2 separate regions of the Homo sapiens genome follow, and region 2 is linked to region 1. The links are contacts of gene promoters, found by promoter capture Hi-C in blood cells and fetal thymus (Javierre and others, 2016). All regions are on one chromosome and are shown on one strand. Each heading gives the region's core, a stretch centred on a gene start or on the middle of the fragment in contact. The rest is flanking DNA. Distances are from core to core; before and after follow the strand shown.

Region 1 (6,157 bases), core at 3,273-5,772:
CTGTCTCCTGGGTTCAAGCAACCTCTGTCTCCTGGGTTCAAGCGACTCTCCTGCCTCAGCCTCCCAGCTAGCAGGGACTACAGGTGCCTGCCACCACGCCCGGCTAATTTTTGTATTTTTAGTAGAGAGAGGGTTTCACCACGTTGGCCAGGCTGGTTTCGAACTCCTGACCTCAAGTGATCCCCCACCTCGGTCTCCCAAAGAGTGGGATTACAGGCGTGAGCCCCCATGCCCAGCCTGTCTCTCTTTTTAAATTTAATTTTATTTTTAAGACAGGGTCTCACTCTGTCACTCAGTCTGGAGCACAATGTCACAATCATGGCTGACTGGTCAACCTCCTAGGCTCAAGCAGTCCTCCCACCTCAGCCTCCCAAGTAGCTGGGACTACCGGTGAGCACGCCACTACACCTAGTTAATTTTTTAATTTTTTGTAGAGCCAGGGTTTCCCTGTGTTGCCCAGGCTGGTCTTAAACTTCTCTCACCTTAGCATCCCAAATTGCTGGGATTATTGGCATGAGCCACCACACCCAGCCTTTTCTTCAACTTTTGATGAGATGTTCTCAAGCCTTCTATTATATTTTTTAATTTTATTTTTTAAATTGTGGTAAAATATGCAAAAATTTCCCATCTTAACCGGGTGTGGTGGCTCACACCTGTAATCCCAGCACTTTGGGAGGCAGAGGCAGGTGGATCACCTGAGGTCAGGAGTTCAAGACCAGCCTGGCCAAAATGGTGTGCACTCCATCTCTACGAAAAATACAAAAAAAAAAAAAAAAGCTGGGCATAGTGGCACACCCCTGTAGTCCCAGCTATTCAGGAGGCTGAGGCAGGAGAATCACTTGAACATGGGAGGCGGAGGTTGCAGTGAGCCGAAATCGTGTCATTGCACTCCAGCCTAGGCAACAAGAGTGAAACTCTGTCTCAAAAAAAAAAAAAAAAAGATCCTGTTTTTATTTTTATTTTCTTTGGATATATACCCAGAAGTGGAATTGTTGGATCATTTGGTAATTCTATTTTTAATTTTTTGAGGAAACACCTTCTGTTTTTCTTCTATTTTATTTTTAATTGTGCTTTTTTCATATCTTTATTTCCAAGAGCCCTTTCTTATTCTTAGAATATTTCTTTCTTTCTAATAGCATCCTACTCTTTTTATGGATGTTATGTCATCCAAGAAAGGCACAGTATTTGGAACACAGACTGTAGAGCAAGATGATCTGGGTTCAGATCCCTGCTCGGCTGCGCGCTAGCTTGTTCAGGTTGCATAAACTCCTTGTTCCCCAATTTCTTTCTTTATCAAGTGGAAACAATAACAGTACATACATTTTAGGATTGCTGTAAGGATTAAATGACCTAATAATACCACACCCAGCACGCAAGTGCTATCATTAACTCTCTGAAAATATTATGTTATAGTTTATTATTTTCTTCTATTCACTTCATTTTTTTGTCTTGATTTTAAACATTCTTATTTCAATCTCTGATTTTCACGTAGGAGATCTTCTTCAAGTGTTTTGTTATCTAAAGTGCTGCATGGAAATTCCGTTTGGCAGGGCAAAGTTTGTCACCTTGTATGGTTCAACAGGAGCCTACCCTGATAGAATTGTACACTGTGTGAGATCAGGGTTTTATCTATCTTGTTACTCATTTGATTACCTGCATCTAAAGCATAGTAGGTGTTCAGTCAATATTTGATAATATCATTAAACCTCTCTGAACCACACACAGTTTTCTCATCTGAAAAGTAAGGTAAAACATATTTATCTGGCTGGTGTTGCAAGAATAGATTATATATAAGGCACCTGGTAGCAACATTATTATCATTATCATTTCTAGGGATGACACTAGGGCAGCTGCTTCATAACCATTTGTGGTCACCACTGACCATGCTAAATATAGCAGTAAAGCAGAGTTGACAGGCCAGTTATTTTAATACAAATAAGCAAAGCAAGAAGAGGGCTCAAGATAATAGCCCTTGACATTCAATGTGTAGAAAGTCCAGGAAGAACACTGGCTTCAGTCATGACCTGTGAGCAGAAAGTGGGTAGCTCTGCTGCATCACCAAACAGCTCTGTAGAATCGCCATTCACGAGGTGCTTCTCAACAGTGTGGTCCGTTACAAGCAATTCAGCAGCAAAGTCATTGGACGCGGAGCAAGGGTGTGCCAGGCTCCCTCACCCACCCTGAAACTCTATCCAGAGAGCAGGTAGGCTGATGGATTGGTTGTTTTTGGACTAGAGTTTTTAAATTTAAAATGATAAGTGCCTCTAGTTTTTTAAAAAAATCAAGAGTACAAAAGGATGTAAATGGAAAAGTCAGCATCCCTATCACCCACAAACCCTCAGGTAGATTTTCCAGAGTTAATCACCATTATTTCTTACAGATATTTTTATGCACACACAAAGATATATTTTTTCACAGATGGGAATCATTAAAAAACTATTCTGAAATTTGCTTTTTTCCCTCCCTACTTTATTTATCCGGAATCACTTCCCATATCAGTATATGTGGATTTGCCTCCTTATTTTTAGCAACTGCTGTATGTATAAAGTAGTATAAAAGATAAGCCCCCAATCTCGATGACTTCACATAATTAACATTTATTTCTCATTTACCTCAATCCTATTGGGGATCAAGTGGGAGTGAGGAGGGTAAGGAGATGTTTTGCTCTTAGCACTTATTCAGGAATCTAGGATGACCACGGCCCTGCCACCTGCAACATATGACTTCCATATACTTGGTGGCTGCTATAGTCACTCTGGGTGACAACATCCAGCCAGTAGATGGGGAAGGAGAGTGTGGAGAAGGGCAAAAGGTTTGTTTTACAATGAACCAAGTCTAGAGGTGACATCTAACACTTCTGCCCACATTACTTTGGCCAGAACTTGAAGAGTTTCCCCTGTAGACCAGCACTAGGAAATTGTCCTGGCTGGACAGCTGCTTGTCTGGAACAACTGGACACTGTGGAAGGGAAACACAAACCTTTAATGGGTGGTCAAACATACCTGACAAAGGTGCACTGTAGGAATACATCCGAATTTATTTAACATGCAGAAGGCTAGCTTGCTTCTCTTTCTTCTGCTTTTCTACTTATCTTTTGTCAAAGGCAAGTTTTTAAACTGTGGAAAGATATCATCTGATAAGAATGAAGACATGAGAAATTAGAAACCTGTAACCATTGCTGGTGGGTGTGTGTACTGGCTCAGATTTGGTGGGGTACAGAGGAGCCATCAATGAAAAACCTGTAAATGATGCATATCTATGATCCAGCAACACTTTTTTTTTTTTTTTTTTTGAGATGGAGTCTTGCTCTGTCGCCCAGGCTGGAGTGCAGTAGCGCAATCTCGGCTCACTGCAAGCTCCGCCTCCTGGGTTCACGCCATTCTCCTGCCTCAGCCTCCCAAGTACTTGGGATTATAGGTGTGTGCCACCACACCCAGCTAATTTTTGTTTTTTTTAGTAGAGATGGGGTTTTACCATGTAGCCTAAGCTGACCTCAAACTCCTGGGCTTAAGTGATTGGCTCACCTTGGCCTCCCAAAGTGCTGGGATTACAGGCGTGAGCCACCACACCTGGCCTGCTCCAGCAACACTTCTAAGGACGGTTTCTAAAGAAATGAGTGGATTGCTGCTCACATCTGTATGCACATGGATGTTTATAATAGTCATGCTTTGTAAACAACCTAGATGCCTAACCACAGAAAACTGTTTAAATTACTGCACATCCATGTAATGGAATACTATGCAGGGGTTTAAAATAATTGCATAGATATCTGCAAACATGAAAATATGTCCATGATACGTCATGATTAAAAAATAAGGTTCCTGGTCAAGTACCATGGCTCACGCCTGTAATCCCAGCATTTTGAGAGGCCAGGGCGGGCAGATCTCTTGAGCCCAGGAGTTCAAGACCAGCCTGGGCAACATGGCGAAACCTCATCTCTACAAAAAATACAAAAATTAGCTGGGCACGGTGGTGTGCACCTGTAGTCCCAGCTACTCAGGAGGCTGAGGTGTGAGGATTGCTGGAGCCAGGGAGGTAGAAGCTGTAGTGAGCCAAGATTGCACCACTGCACTCCCGCCTGTGTGACAGAATGAGACCCTGTCAAAAAAAAAAAAAAAAAAAGCTCCTAAAGTGCAATTTTAAAAAACAAATGATTACTTATAGCGAAAAGACTAGAGGACACATGCAAATGTGTACAGTATTTATCTCTGGGTAATAGAACTATGGGTGTTTTTCATTTTCTTCTTTTACACCTTTATGTAATGTGTTAATATTTTATCATTAGGGAAAAAAACAGCAAAGCTATTTTCAGCTTGAAATGAAAAAAGGTTGATAAAGGGGATTGGGGCTTAGGTGATTAAAGGCAAGCATGTGAGTCAGACATGGCCTCCCAGCCCCTGCCGGACTGTTGCGCTGTCGCCGGACACTCAAGTTGCTATCAGGAGCACTTTTCTCTGTCAAAGTGACTGGCTTTTGTCATGCAATCCCCAAGTTATAATGGGAGGGTAGGATAGGCCCCAGAGCAGTCAGCTGAGCCAGCCCCGCTCAGTGAGTCTGTCCTCTGGGGCTCGCCATGCCCCCAGCCTCCGCATGGGGAACACCATCAGGGCCCTCGTGGCCTTCATCCCTGCTGACCGTTGCCAGAACTATGTGGTCAGGGACCTCCGTGAGATGCCGCTGGACAAGATGGTGGATCTGAGTGGGAGCCAGTTACGCCGCTTCCCCCTGCACGTGTGCTCCTTCAGGGAGCTGGTCAAGCTCTACCTGAGCGACAACCACCTCAATAGCCTGCCTCCGGAGCTGGGGCAGCTACAGAACCTGCAGATTCTGGCCTTGGATTTCAACAACTTCAAGGCTCTGCCCCAGGTGGTGTGCACCTTGAAACAGCTCTGCATCCTCTACCTGGGCAACAACAAACTCTGCGACCTCCCCAGTGAGCTGAGCCTGCTCCAGAACCTCAGGACCCTGTGGATCGAGGCCAACTGCCTCACCCAGCTGCCGGATGTGGTCTGTGAGCTGAGTCTCCTTAAGACTCTGCATGCCGGCTCCAACGCCCTGCGTTTGCTGCCAGGCCAGCTCCGGCGCCTCCAGGAGCTGAGGACCATCTGGCTCTCGGGCAACCGGCTAACTGACTTTCCCACTGTGCTGCTTCACATGCCCTTCCTGGAGGTGATTGATGTGGACTGGAACAGCATCCGTTACTTCCCCAGCCTGGCGCACCTGTCAAGTCTGAAGCTGGTCATCTATGACCACAATCCTTGCAGGAACGCACCCAAGGTGGCCAAAGGTGTGCGCCGTGTGGGGAGATGGGCAGAGGAGACGCCAGAGCCCGACCCTAGAAAAGCCAGGCGCTATGCGTTGGTCAGAGAGGAAAGCCAGGAGCTACAGGCACCAGTCCCTCTACTTCCTCCTACCAACTCCTGAGGAGCTTCAGTTGCAAGTCAATGCCAAGGACCCAACTGCAGCATGTTCTGGAAGCCTCTCCATTGGAGTGGAAAGGATGGCTCTGGGTCATTTGGGAGTGGCTCTGCTAGTAGAGACTGATGGAGAGAGCCAGGTGGAATGCCATAAATCACACTGAGAAAATATTTCTGGCAAACAGCTCCTCTTCCAGAGGGGAGTTGTGTGCCAATGATGGCATGACAATCCAGAGATCATAACTTCTTTGCAAGAAAACAGCTTCTCCACACATGTATTTTGAAACACTGAAGAGCAAAAGGGGCTGGGACACTCTGAACTCCTGCACTCTCCAGAAGTGACTGGTCATGAAGCTCATGAGCTCCTCAAATAAGGTATTTGCCATAGAACTAAATATTCTGGTGGTCTGTCTCTTTGCAGGACATATTTTCTTTACTGTAAATGACCATAAACAGTATCAATGTATCACTGAGGCCACCGAAAAGGACATTTCTACCTAGGCAATCAGTCAGATTCACAGAAAAAAGTTGTTTGTTGTTGTAAAGGCTCAAGATGAAACTCTTTCCCCAGCAGTTTAGTGCCTGCTGAAAAGATCCCTGATGGACAATACTTCTTGGTGGACTCCAGCTGCCCCTTTTATTATTATTAGAGACAAGGTCTCACTCTGTTGCTAGGCTGGAGTGCAGTGGCACAATCATGGCTCACTGCAGCCCCGAACTACTGGGCTCAAGCCTTCCTC
Region 2 (6,558 bases), core at 1-2,500, 300 kb after region 1:
ACTGTGGTGGTGGTTATACAAGTTTCTACATGTACTAAAATTGCATAGAGCTACACACACACACACAAGTATATGTATAACTGGTGAAATTTAAATAAGCTCTATAGGGCTGGGTGCAGTGGTTCACGCCTATAATCCCAGCACTTTGGGAGGCTGGGGCAGGATGATCACTTGAGCCCAGGAGTTCAAGACCAGCCTGAGCAACACAGGGAGATCCCATCTTTACAAAAGGTTTTTTAAAAAAAATTAGCCAGGTGGCACATGCCTGTAATCCCAGCTACTTGGGAGGCTGAGGTGGGAGGATCACTGGAGCCTAGGAGGTCAAGGCTGTAGTGAGCTGTGATCACACTACTGCACTTCAGCTTGAGTTACAGATTGAGACCCTGTCTCATAAATAAATAAATAAATAAATAAATAAATAAATAAATAAATAAGCTCTATAGATTGCACCAATATCTATTTCTTGATTTTGAGACTGTACTGTAGTTGTGGAAGATATTGACATTGGGGGATGCTGGAGGAAGACTGAACAGAATTTCTCTGTTATTTCTTGGCTGCCACTGGTGATATAATTACCTCAAAGTAAAAGCTTTTAAACAACTGCTATGAAATTCGCAAATAAAAAATATTATTTATAATAAATAGATTGGCTAGATATAATGAAAAAACTTCTTGAATTTCAAAAAATTTGAAAAAATTTGTTGAACTTTCTTAAAAGTAAAACCTACTTCTTTTTTTCCACCTCTCATTGAGAATCTTTCAACAGAATCATCTTGACAATTAGAGGCTTGGTATGGACAAAACAGGCCAGTGAGAAATATATTTATCTGGTTTCCTAATATTCATACTGAGCTGGATATTCTGTCATTTTAAGAAAAAGAAAAAATAAACCAGGCATGAAAATGTACCACTTATCTTTAATTATTTTTTCTGGGTGTATCACAAGTTACCTGGACCTCAATACTGTTTTGTTTTATGATTGTAAATGGAATATAGATGTTGCAAAATTGTAAACAACAGACTTTTTTTTTTTTTTTTAAATGAAACAGGGTCACACTCTGTTGCCCAGCAGTGGAGTAATCATGGCTAATTACAGCCTTAAACTCCTGGGCTGGAGGAATCTTCCAAGTAGCTGAGACTACAGGTATGTGCCACCACGCCTGGCTAATATTTTCATTTTTTGTAGAGATCGTCTCACTGTGTTGCCTGGGCTAGTTTTGAACTCCTGGCCATGGGTGATCCTCCCACATCAGTCTTCCAAAGTGCAGGGATTACAGGCATAAGCCACCAAGCCCAGGTAAAACCATTTTTAAAAAGAAAGTGAATTCCCTCAGAATCCCACCCCAAAGAAACCACACATATTTTTTGGTAAGTCAGATAATTCAATATATACTATTGAATAATTTGCTTTTTTTCACAGCACAATATTTCATACACAAATTTCTTTGCCAGTGCTCCCCGTTATTGCCATTGTTTGGATGTACTATAGTTTATTTAACCAATTTCCCATTGATGGACATTTGGATCCTTCCAATATTTTTATTACATTTATTTAGTATTTTGAATAGTTTGTCTGTGTTTGCTGTGTATTACCCCAAAAAGTAGCAGTGGTTTAAAATAATAATCATTTATTTCACTTATGATTTGGTGGACTGCAGCTCTTCTGGTCTAGGCCACCCTGGCTGATTGCTGGGTTTTCTCAGATGTCCGTAGTTAGTGGTTGGTTGGCAGCTAGGTGATTTCAGATAGCTTCATTCATACGTCTAACAGTAGGCAGGCTGTTGTCTAGAATCATAGGAGGCAGCTAGTCTCTTATCATCCAGAAGGCTAGCCTAGGTTTATTCACATAGTGGCAGATTTCCAAGAGCAGACTGAGGTCTAGCCCTAATCCACAAACACTTTTCAAGCTTCTGGTTGTGTCATCTTTGCTAATGTTTCATGACCAAAGTGAATGATATGGCCAATCCAGAATTGAGGAGTGAAGAAAACAGACCTTACTTCTTGATGATAGGATCTACAACATTACATTACGAGGGCACAGATGTCAGATTAGGAAGAAATTGTGGCCCTGTGTTCAATCTACCACAAGGAGATGATACAATCACATAGTTTTAGATAGATACAATGTTAGAAATCAATAACCATCATATATACAAACAACAACCAGCTAGGAGAGAAAATAAAATATTTTACTTTCTTTTTTTTAATTTAATTTAATTTAATTTAATTTATTATTATTATACTTTAAGTTTTAGGGTACATGTGCACAATGTGCAGGTTAGTTACATATGTATACATGTGCCATGCTGGTGCGCTGCACCCCAACTCGTCATCTAGCATTAGGTATATCTCCCAATGCTATCCCTCCCCCCTCCCCCCACCCCACAACAGTCCCCAGAGTGTGATGTTCCCCTTCCTGTGTCCATGTGTTCTCATTGTTCAATTCCCACCTATGAGTGAGAATATGCGGTGTTTGGTTTTTTGTTCTTGCAATAGTTTACTGAGAAAGATGATTTCCAATTTCATCCACGTCCCTACAAAGGACATGAACTCATCATTTTTTATGGCTGCATAGTATTCCATGGTGTATATGTGCCACATTTTCTTAATCCAGTCTATCATTGTTGGACATTTGGGTTGGTTCCAAGTCTTTGCTATTGTGAATAATGCTGCAATAAACATACGTGTGCATGTGTCTTTATAGCAGCATGATTTATAGTCTCTTGGGTATATACCCAGTAATGGGATGGCTGGGTCAAATGGTATTTCTAGTTCTAGATCCCTGAGGAATTGCCACACTGACTTCCACAATGGTTGAACTAGTTTACAGTCCCACCAACAGTGTAAAAGTGTTCCTATTTCTCCACATCCTCTCCAGCACCTGTTGTTTCCTGACTTTTTAATGATTGCCATTCTAACTGGTGTGAGATGGTATCTCATTGTGGTTTTGATTTGCATTTCTCTGACGGCCAGTGATGGTGAGCATTTTTTCATGTGTTTTTTGGCTGCATAAATGTCTTCTTTCGAGAAGTGTCTGTTCATGTCCTTCACCCACTTTTTGATGGGGTTGTTTGTTTTTTTCTTGTAAATTTGTTTGAGTTCATTGTAGATTCTGGATATTAGCCCTTTGTCAGATGAGTAGGTTGCAAAAATTTTCTTCCACTTTGTAGGTTGCCTGTTCACTCTGATGGTAGTTTCTTTTCCTGTGCAGAAGCTCTTTAGTTTAATTAGATCCCATTTGTCAATTTTGGCTTTTGTTGCCATTGCTTTTGGTGTTTTAGACATGAAGTCCTTGCCCATGCCTATGTCCTGAATGGTAATGCCCAGGTTTTCTTCTAGGGTTTTTATGGTTTTAGGTCTAACGGTTAAGTCTTTAATCCATCTTGAATTGATTTTTGTATAAGGTGTAAGGAAGGGATCCAGTTTCAGCTTTCTACATATGGCTAGCCAGTTTTCCCAGCACCATTTATTAAATAGGGAATCCTTTCCCCATTGCTTGTTTTTCTCAGGTTTGTCAAAGATCACATAGTTGTAGATATGCGGCATTATTTCTGAGGGCTCTGTTCTGTTCCATTGATCTATATCTCTGTTTTGGTACCAGTACCATGCTGTTTTGGTTACTGTAGCCTTGTAGAATAGTTTGAAGTCAGGTAGTGTGAGGCCTCCAGCTTTGTTCTTTTGGCTTAGGATTGACTTGGCGATGCGGGCTCTTTTTTGGTTCCATATGAACTTTAAAGTAGTTTTTTCCAATTCTGTGAAGAAAGTCATTGGTAGCTTGATGGGGATGGCATTGAATCTGTAAATTACCTTGGGCAGTATGGCCATTTTCACGGTATTGATTCTTCCACCCATGAGCATGGGATGTTCTTCCATTTGTTTGTATCCTCTTTTATTTCCTTGAGCAGTGGTTTGTAGTTCTCCTTGAAGAGGTCCTTCACGTCCCTTGTAAGTTGGATTCCTAGGTATTTTATTCTCTTTGAAGCAATTGTGAATGGGAGTTCACTCATGATTTGGCTCTCTGTTTGTCTGTTGTTAGTGTATAAGAATGCTTGTGATTTTTGTACATTGATTTTGTATCCTGAGACTTTGCTGAAGTTGCTTATCAGCTTAAGGAGATTTTGGGCTGAGACAATGGGGTTTTCTAGATATACAATCATGTCGTCTGCAAACAGGGACAATTTGACTTCCTCTTTTCCTAATTGAATACCCTTTATTTCCTTCTCCTGCCTAATTGCCCTGGCCAGAACTTCCAATACTATGTTGAAAATATTTTACTTTCAATAGCAATAAAATAATTTTTTAAAAATCCAGAAATAAATCTAATAAAAGACACATAAGATCTATATGAAAGAAAAAAGGTGTTAAGGAACATAAAACTTGAACAAATGGAAAAGTCTATTATATTCTTGATTAAGGAAGACTGATATAAAAATATCAGTTCTCTCAAAGTTGGCCTACAAATCTAAATAGATCCTAATGAAAATATCAAGAAGATTGGTTTTATTTTTTGAAAGTAGATAAATTCTAAAGTTTATACAGAAAAATGAATATGGTGATTTTAAAATGTCTAAAAATTCCTTAGGAAGTACAGTTTAATTCCCTTCTCCCTAAAGTGTGACTAGCTTACTTCTAATGAATATGATAAAGTGACAGTGTGCCATTTCTGACATTAAATCATAAAAATTATGTGTCCTTCTCCTTGCTTTCTCTCTCTTGGATCATTTGTGCAGGGAGAAGTCAGTTGTAATGTCAGAATATTCAAAAAGCTCTATGGAGAGGTCCATGTAGTGAGTTACTGAGTGAGGAACAACAAGTGAGGAACAGAAGCCTCTTGCTAAAACTAACTTGGAAGTAGATCCTCCAGCACCAGTCAAGTCTTTGGATGACTCCATCCCCAGCTGATATCTTTTCTACAATCTAATGAGACACCCTGAGCCAAAACTACCCTGGAAAGTGACTCCTAAACTCCTGACATACAAAAATGATGAGAAAATAAATGTTTATTATTTAAGCGATTACATTTGGAGGGAAAATTGTTATACAGCAATAAATAACTAATATAATGAATAAGCAATAATAGACATAAACCTTAAAGGCAAGAATAATAAAGGGGGATTAACCCGATTATATAGTAAAACATATTCTAAAGCTATAATAATTAAAACAATGTGGTAATTGCATATGAATAAATATAGATATCAAAGGAGTAGAATAGGAGGTTGATAAATATGTACATATCCACTGAAAAAAGTTAGTGTATGAAAATGGCAAAATTTCAAATCAATAGGGCAAAATAAGGATTATTCAATAAATGGCATTGTAGGAAATGAAGAGCTAGCTGAAAAAATAAATTATATCCATACTTCACATATTATACGAAAATGAATTATGGATAGATCAAATATTTAAATAGTAAACATAAAAAAGGATTTTAAAAATTATGGGAAAATTTTAAAAAGAAAACCTCTGAGTGGAAATATAGAAGCCTTAAGAGATTAGTAAGTTTACTTACACACACACACATTCTCCATGGCTCAAACATTGTGGACAAAGATAAATGACAAACTGGGAAAATCTTTGCTGCTTGTATCAAATATAAGGTAACTGATCATCTGAATTTATAAAGGAGAGAATATAAATTGATAAGAAAAAGACCAACAACCCTATGAAAAAAATGAGTAACAGACAACTGACACAGAAAAGGAAATACACATGGCTTTTAAATAAATAAAAAGATACTTAATAACCCTCGTAATATAAGAAATGTGAATTAAAACTACAAACTGATGCTACTTTTGATCTAATTAGTTGGCAAAAATCAAAATGCTTGACAAAATCCTATGTTGGTAAGGGTAAGGGGAAACACTCTCATATCTTGCTAGTGGGAAAATGAACTGGTACAATCTCTTCAAGATCATTTTGGCAATTTTGTTATCTGTCAAAACTACAAATTTACTCAGCCAATCCATTTCTAGGATTATGTCTCATAAATATATATAGTCACACGTGTAAAATGACATGTATAAAGTTATTCTCCTTGGCATTATTTATCATAGCAAAACACTGGGAAAAACTTAAATACATTGAAGAGGAAACATTAAATAAATCATGTCACACACATAAAATGAGATAATATGGAGTCATAAATAAGATCAAGGAAGTTAATTATATACAGATACAGCATGTCTGCAGGATACATTTAAACATTAAAAAGCAAGGTGCAGATGCTTAACACTGTGGGAGGCAAAATAGTTTACTGACTTTCAGCAAGTCACTAAACAAATGGAAAATCAAAGAGTAATAACAAACCCTGGAGGAGGTAGGAGATCAGTACCCAGAGTTTGTACATTATTTGACATGTCCAGTTTGGAATACTGGCAAGTATATTACACAGCACAAAGGAGGTGGATGGGAGCAAAGTTGTATTGAGTTAAGGAAATAATTACAGATAGAAACGTAGGGGAAGAGGGGAATAGAGCTATATAGGATTAACATTTTTATACACCACTGAAATTAAGCAATTATAAATCAGAAGCTGATTCTGATAAGTCAAGGTAT

Evidence for each region. The method cuts DNA at HindIII sites, captures the fragments that hold promoters and counts their contacts. A CHiCAGO score of 5 or more calls a contact.
Region 2: a contact is called between a fragment that was not itself captured here and the fragment with the promoter of LRRC10 in region 1, in 1 of 17 cell types (total CD8 T cells). The highest score is 5.0, in total CD8 T cells.

Annotation. Positions count from the first base shown.
Region 1 is chr12:69,609,272-69,615,428 of GRCh38, reverse strand. LRRC10 (leucine rich repeat containing 10) reads left to right here and starts at 4,522. Exons shown (of 1, transcript NM_201550.4): 1 at 4,522-6,157. The coding sequence starts at 4,591. The coding sequence ends at 5,424. The HindIII fragment of the contact is 9,863 bases long and covers 1-6,157 here.
Region 2 is chr12:69,304,962-69,311,519 of GRCh38, reverse strand. No RefSeq gene overlaps it. Among named protein-coding and RNA genes, the nearest start is that of MIR1279, 35 kb to the right of the region's middle. The HindIII fragment of the contact is 1,318 bases long and covers 592-1,909 here.